Linked DNA regions of Homo sapiens: region 1 is linked to region 2. The links are contacts of gene promoters, found by promoter capture Hi-C in blood cells and fetal thymus (Javierre and others, 2016). All regions are on one chromosome and are shown on one strand. The core of a region is centred on a gene start or on the middle of the fragment in contact, and the rest is flanking DNA. Distances in the headings are between cores, read along the strand shown. Region 1 holds the start of EGR4 (early growth response 4). Region 2 holds the start of MTHFD2 (methylenetetrahydrofolate dehydrogenase (NADP+ dependent) 2, methenyltetrahydrofolate cyclohydrolase).

Region 1 (3,831 bases), core at 194-2,693, 910 kb before region 2:
CAGCGGGAAAGCGTCATAGGCCCCGCTGGGATAGAGTCTGTTGGCTGGGACGGCCGGCAGTTCCGCAGGGCAGCTGATGGACAGCAAGTCCTCAATCTTGGTCCCTATTACGGGAAAACGAGCCTCCGGGGCGGCCTGGTAGTCTCCCTGTGACCCACAGTTCCCTGGGGCCCCCACAGAAAGCAGCTCCCAGGGCGCGTAGGGACCCTTGAAGGCAGAGACAGCGTCCAGCGCTGGCGAGGCGGGAGGCGCCCGGAGGCCGGGCTTGACGTCGGGCGGGGAGAGCTGAGGCTCATACAGGCACTGCGAGGGGGCACCCGCGCAAGGCGAGGCCTCCCAGAACGCCTCTGGGAAAGGGGCAGCGCCCAGATCCGGGGAGTAAAGGTCCGGCGGACCCGGCAGCAAGGCATCGGACCCCGCAGGAAAAGGGGCATCCAGCGGGGATCTGGACGCTGCTGCCTCTGGACCGGGGAAGGGTGCCAGGCCTAAGATGCCCGACATGAGGTTGAAGAGTGCCTCCGGGTCGTGCGGGTGTTCGGGCACTGCCTGAATGAAGAAGCTACCGCTGTAGCTGAGGCCGGGAGGGGGTGTGGGCGCAGGCCCCTCCAGGAAGCAGGAGTCGGCTAAGTCCCCACTTGCGCCGCAGCTGTTCAAAGCCCAGCTCAAGAAGTCGCCTGCTGAGGAGGGAGCAGGAATCAGCTCTGGGCACATCAAAGGGTGCACCTGAGTCCACAGCCCCTACCTACAAAACTCTTGGTGCCCACGGATATACACAAAGTGCCTTTTGCACATTCTGATTCAGCAGGGGCCCGCATACGTCCCAAGGAGCACATAGAAACATGCACACGCAAAACACACGTGCACAGGCAAAAGGGCGCTCCGATAACCGCACAGGTTCCTGCGGAGGCGCTGGCGGCCCAGTGTGGGTGGGAATGGGGGTGCGCACCCCAGGACTCCTAAGCTTCCCATCGCCCCTATTCTCATAGCTCCAATGTCCCAGTCCCTCCTGGTTCTCAGGTATGGTGCGCCCCCGCGCTGCGCCGTCGTCGTCTGAGCACCCCTGCTCGCCCTCCTTACCTCCAGGGTAGCCGGTGGCCGCGGGAGCGTCCCTGGCAGGCAGCCGGGGCAATTCAGCGCTGGGTTCGGCGCAACAGCCTTCAGTGGACTTGACGAGGAGCGCGTCGGGTTCGGAAAACTCGCTAAGGTGGAGCATGGCGCGGCGCCGGCTGTGGGGCGCCCGGGGCCTCGCCCGCTGGGCTTGGGGGCGCGCGGGTGGCGGGGAGGCTGGCGGTAGGGGTTCCCCGCAGCGCACAGACCTAGGCGCCCGGGCTCCTGGCTTCGGGCACTCACCTCTGGGAAAGGAGTCGGGGAGCCGCGGCGCCCTCGCTCGCCCGCACCGGCCTCGGGCGGCGGCTCCTCGCCTCTCCAAAGCGCTGCCGGGCTCCCCCAGCCCACAGCCCCCCCACTTATATAGCTGCGGCGGCGCTGGCTCCGGGCTTCCGACTCCCCGGGCCACTGCCATTTTGGGAGGCCCCGGCCCTGCCGCCGTGACGTAAATGCCCAAACATGGACACAGGATGTGTGCCGGGGACTCCCGAAAAGGAAAGCTCGAGCTGTGACGTTGTTGTTGTCGCCGCCGCCGCCAGGCTCGCGCCGCTGCGTGCGCGCGCGCTCCCCAGGCGTGGAGCGCTGGGGCCGCGGATGCGCCAGTCTGGGGCGCTGCGCCTCACCGGGCCGACCGTCCGGTAGATGCGCTTCCCACCTGGAGGCAGAGGCCGAGGGGCAGCAGGGGAGGACCGTGTTGGGTTTGAATCTGCCCTCTGCCACTAACTAGCTTGACACTCAGTCCCCCTTAACGTCAGTTTCTCACCTGTGCATTTCCTGTGGAGAGAAACTGAGAGCACATAAATGTCCAGGCGCACTCAGTAAACCACAGAGATTATTGCCATTCATTTCTTTTGCTCACGCCTGTGTGTTTTTCCATTTTAAGTTTTTTTTTTTTAAATTTGTGCTAGGAAAAATAATTTAAATTAAAAAGGACTGTAATACTTGTTAACAGTAGGAGGAAAGTCAACTAGCACAACAGGGTATATTCTAAATTGAAAAGTAAAAGTCCCTCCTCTCCACCTACCTTCATTCCTAGCTCCTGAGGTAGCCACATTTAAGTTTCTTGGGTATTCTTTCAGAAGAATTTTATGTATATCCAACCATACACATTGTTCTGCAATATTATTATTATTATTATTTTTTCACTTGAAATAACTTAGAGATTGTGCCATGTCCTGACATAAAGATCTTGTCATTCTTTTTCAAGGCTGTATAGTACTCCATTGTAAGGGAGGACCTTGAGTTAGTCGATTTGTCCCCTATCCATGAGCATGTAGGCAGTTTCCAACTTTTTACTTATACCAATGTTGTTGGAGTCAACATCCTTGACTATATAAATGTGAATGTGTCTGTGAGATAAATTCCAACGAGTGTAATTGTGTGCCAAAGTATATGTAAAATTTTGATAGACAACTGGCAAATTGTCTTCCAGAAAAGTAGGGCCAATTCCTGCTCACTCCTCCCTCACCCACAGGGTATGAGATGCTTCTGCAGAACATTTTTTCTGCCTTCATACAAATGGCTTTCGCTCTAAGGATGTTGATCCCAGCAACACACAGGGAATCCGTGGGAAATATCTCCCTGGAATCAGTACTTGAAATAATTGGGCTTCTTTTGAGAAAAAAAAAAAAAATCCTAGCCTTAAGGAGGCTGTGAATCTTGGCTGCAGAAGCATCAGAGCCAACTCCAGCAAAGAAGCTTGCCTACTCTCCTAGTCTCATCTCTCTTCTGCTGTGGTTTTCCCTCTGTCTCATTCTCTCATTCTTTTTAAAATGTTTATTTTATTTTGTATTATAGCTCACTTAACTCCTTTCTGGAACCAAATTAAATAAATACATGGGGGGGAAGGATTAAATAAATACATGGAATAGCATGTTCTTCTTTATGAAGAGCATCAATTCCTGAGACTCTGTGTGCTGGAGGGTAAGGTGGGCAGGTTTAGGGCTCCTCCTTCCTTCTCTCCTTTTTTGAAATAGAAACAAAGCCCTTTGGGGGTGGTGGACTCAGCATCATGGGCAGTATAGCTCCCAGCCTCTCTTCCACCCCTGTACCCTCTTTTTCAAGAGAGAGAGAGAGAGCCCAAGAATGCCCAAACCCCACCACATTCTCAGTCCTTTCACCCTATGTCCATTATCCAAACATCCATTCAGTTTCTCAATGTTCATTCATTCAGTATTCATTTCTTAAGTGCCTATTACAGGCCAGAAGGTAGACTTTGGTTTTATGTCTGCTGGGACCCTGAGCCCCATCTCCAGCACTAGGTGCCCACTCCTCATCCCACAGTGACCTTATTAAGTGTTTTCACAGAATATGTCCCTTCACACAATCACCTGCAAAACATATGCTGACACACTTGTATGCATCTTCTCCTGAAGTCCACAAATCATATAAAGGTTCTCACAGGGTCATGCACTTGCAGTGTGTCTTACTAAATGGCTACACCTATGGTTCTGTGTTAGTAGCACATATATGAGCATGTAGGAAATGCAGAAACCCAGCAGATGTCTGTAAAGATTGGACACACCAAGCACGATTTTCCTTATACTCTATTTCAGATCCAGGGTTTGATTCTAATCCAAATGCATTGCCAAGGCCAGGTGAGCCCACACCAGACACACAGGGCACACATGTCTCAAATCCACTCTGGCATCCTACTGCCTGAGAGGGAGGAGGAGGGGAGGAGTTTGACTGGGCTGGTGTCCAGGTCTCCCCAGGTCGCCCCGT
Region 2 (3,733 bases), core at 28-2,527:
TGTTGACAGGATTGGTTTCCCCTGTTCTTTGTTTGTTTGTTTTGTTTTTTGAGACAGAGTCTTTTTGTTGCCCAGGCTGAAGTGCAGTGGCACAGTCTCGGCTCCCTGCAACCTCTGCCTCCCAGATTCAAGCGATTCTCATGCCTCAGTCTCCCCAGTAGCTGGGATTACAGCGTCCGCCACGATGCTCAGATAATTTTTTGTGTTTTTAGTAGAGACGGGGGTTTCAACACATTGGCCAGGCTGGTCTCGAACTCCTGGCCTCAGGTGATCCGTCCGCCTTGGCCTCCCAAAGAGCTGGGGATTACAGAAGTGAGCCACCGCGCCCTGCCCTCCTTAAGTTTCCTTGCGGGAGAGATACTTTGAGACTATGCAAAAAGTTTGCGGGAAAAAATACAGGAAGCCCAGTTGAATCTGAATTCCAGATAAGCCATAAATAAAGTATAAATATGACCTCCCAAAGTGTTTATCTAAAATTCTGATTTGATTGGGCATCTTGTGTTTTTATTTGCTAGATCTGGCAACCCTATATGTAAATATCTTGCTCCTCATCCAACTTTCACCCAGTTGTTTTGACATCTATTGCTGCTTCTGAATCAGGGTTGCACATGCAACCCTGACGTCTGTCTCTGAATATCTTTTATGATTTTACTTTTTTTGTTGTTGTTTTGAGATATGGTCTCACTCTCGTCGCCCAGGCTGGAGTGCAGTGGCGCGCCTTCAGCTCACTGCAGCCTCAACCTCCTGAACTCAGGTGATCCTTCCACCTCAGCCTCCCCAGTAGCTGGTACTGTAGTCACGCGCCACCATGTACTGATTTTGGAAAATGGTGATTTTCTAACTCCATCATTCCTTTTACTTCTGTTCGTTGGCATTCTATCAGCTTGTCTTTTCATCCACCCTTTACAGTGCTTGGCACACAGTAGGCGCTCATATAATTGTTCAACGAATGAATGAATGAACTTTTCTCTTGTGTTGTCCGGCCTTCGGTGACACTAGCGGCGTCAGGCAGGAGTTTGACTTCCTCAGCCTATCATGGCACGTTGCCGAGGCTTCAGCGCCTTACAGGACCTCGCTCCAGGCTCTTCTGGCTCCAATCAAAAGCAGGGCTCTTTCGGACTTCGCTTACGTTTAATAAAGAAAACCGGTTGGCCCCTTCGGCTCCACCTGGCTCAACAGACAGCCAGTGGCATGCGGCAGGGACCAATGGGTGGCGGAGGGAGGCGGGGCCTGCCACGAGGCCGCAGTATAACCGCGTGGCCCGCGCGCGCGCTTCCCTCCCGGCGCAGTCACCGGCGCGGTCTATGGCTGCGACTTCTCTAATGTCTGCTTTGGCTGCCCGGCTGCTGCAGCCCGCGCACAGCTGCTCCCTTCGCCTTCGCCCTTTCCACCTCGCGGCAGTTCGGTAAGAGGGTCACAGAGCTCGGTCAGCGCGGAAAGCTGAGGGGAACGGAGGGCGAGGGGCACGCCGGGCCCCCGAGGGACACCGAGGGAAGTCCTTCCCGAACATCTCCGCCCCGGCGGTGGTGGCCGCTGAGGGGTGTGGCGGGGCGACGTGGCACCGAGCGCCGCCGCAGCTCTCGACTGGGGCGCTTCCTCGGCGCGGAGGGCTGGTACCCGAAGCCCGCCTTTCGGAGGGAGCCGCTCTCCTGCGACTCGGGGCGTCGCCGGGGCCCGTGGCCAGTCGGCGGGCGGGACGGGGGTGGCGTGCGGAACGCGAAGGCATCAGTTTACGCGGAGCCTTCCGACAGCGCCGGCCGCCTCTGGCTGGGATGCTGAGAGTCGTCTGGGGGAGAACAGGCGAGGGTTCCAAAAGAGCAGCCCTCGGCGAGTTGTCCTTGCGGGGACCCTAGCGGCGGAGGGCGCTGCTGCAGCTGATGAAATCGCGGAGCCGACTTGCTCGGGGTCCCCGCGCCGCCCTCCTCCCTCCGCCGGTGGGAGTGGCCCGCGCTGCCTCCGCTCTGCCAGGAACATGAACGGACTCTGGGCACCCTAGCTTTGGCTGCAGCCCACCAGAGCCTGTCAGTGCCGGGCTGCGTACATAGAGGTGGCAAACATCCGGGAGGCTCCCAGGGCCTTAGGGAAAGGGGGAATGGAGAGTGACAAGTACCCATATTTCAGCGGTACTTGCAGAATTTCAGTTTTACAAGATGAAGAGTTCTGAAGATGGATGGTGGTGATGGTTGCACAACATATGAACGTATTTAATACCACTGAACTGCACTTAAAAATGGTTAAGATGGGCCGGGCGTGGTGACACGCGCCGAGGCTGAGGCACGAGAATCGCTTGAGCCCAGGAGTTCGAGGCTGCAGTGAGCCGTGATTGCACCACTGCCCTCCAGTCTGGGCGACAGAGCGAGACCCTGTCTCAAAAAAAAAAAAAAAAAAAAAAGTTGATAAGGTTTATGTTATGTGAATTTTACCACAATAACAAAATTGGGAAAAATATACAGGGGAGGAGGAAAGGAAAAGCTCTGTTTGCATTTTTGGGTTTCCTTGGGAAGGTGATTTGGTCGGTCATTAGAGCGCTGGCATTGTTGGCATTGTTAGAGCCCTGCACCTTACAACATCAGCCCCTTCTTTTTTTCATCTAACGTTCACTGTGTACCAGACACTATGCCAAGCTGTGCGAATTCAAAGATGAGAAAAACTGTTCTTAATGGAGCTCATGTTCCTGACAAGGGGCAGAACACGCGTGTAATTTCCAGTCAGTGCGGAAATGCTGTTAGAAATATTTCAAAGGCGCTGCTTGTTGGAGCAATGAGTTCTTGAAGGAAAACGTGGGAGGGGACTTTCAGGGTTTTCCCTGGTCTGACTCTTGACCTCCCCCATGTTTCGTTACTGTGTGTTTTCTCCCCTTCTCCCTCTTCCTGAGTGCTGGCCTCATGTGACTGTGGACCAGACCTTTCCTAGGCTTCCATGGTCCAAAAGAGATTTATAAAGATGCTCTCATTCATTACCTAAAGAACTGGGCCAGTTTGTCTACACTCTCCAATAACAAATGCTCTTTTCACTACCTTTCTGAAAGAACAAGTAAGCTTCATCCACATCTCTGAAAGCAATCCATATTATCTGTACTGCACATTTGCTATTTACAATTCCCACATATTGCTTTCTTACTGCTGCTTATTTTTTAAAATACTGTTTATTTTTAAATACTGCTTATTTTTAAAAAGTTGTATCCTTTTAAAAATATGAGTCTGCATTCTTTTTTTTTTTTTCTTTGTTGGATGGTATGAGAGTTTCAGGAACATAAACCTATGGTTGGAGAAATAGTAGCCTAGGAGACAGTGGGATTAGGAAGTCAATGGACTTTAGAGGCAGAAGTTTGCCTTTGAATCTTGTTTCTACTATCCTCAGTTTCATCTTCTGTATTACAGTGTTATTATAATAGTCCCAAGGTAACAGAGTAATATATGTTAAAGTGTAAGCAAAACACCTAGTGTTTAATAGATGTTTGTTCCTTTCTCCATTATGTCTTCCTTCACTCATTATTTTTCCCATTAATAATTGATAACAACTCTTCCCTAAATCACTTGATTATGAATTGTAAAATGTCCTGATACTAATTTCTCATGGAAAATTACAGTACTGTAAGCTATTGAATTAAAAGGAAAGTGAAGATGCTACTCACTTGGATTTTAGTTTTGAATTTTATTTTATTTTTTGAGACGGAGTCTTACTTTGTTGCCCAGGCTGGAGTGCAATGGTGCAATCTTGGCTCACTGCAACC

Evidence for each region. The method cuts DNA at HindIII sites, captures the fragments that hold promoters and counts their contacts. A CHiCAGO score of 5 or more calls a contact.
Region 1: a contact is called between the fragment with the promoter of EGR4 here and the fragment with the promoter of MTHFD2 in region 2, in 1 of 17 cell types (fetal thymus). The highest score is 5.1, in fetal thymus.

Annotation. Positions count from the first base shown.
Region 1 is chr2:73,292,105-73,295,935 of GRCh38, forward strand. It overlaps EGR4 (early growth response 4), which reads right to left and starts at 1,444. Exons shown (of 2, transcript NM_001965.4): 1 at 1,078-1,444; 2 at 1-677. The coding sequence starts at 1,213. RefSeq lists a silencer at 1,727-1,806. The HindIII fragment of the contact is 1,844 bases long and covers 960-2,803 here.
Region 2 is chr2:74,197,338-74,201,070 of GRCh38, forward strand. MTHFD2 (methylenetetrahydrofolate dehydrogenase (NADP+ dependent) 2, methenyltetrahydrofolate cyclohydrolase) reads left to right here and starts at 1,278. Exons shown (of 8, transcript NM_006636.4): 1 at 1,278-1,405. The coding sequence starts at 1,305. RefSeq lists an enhancer at 940-1,498 and silencers at 1,207-1,346, 1,537-1,816, 1,947-2,036. The HindIII fragment of the contact is 3,357 bases long and covers 1-3,036 here.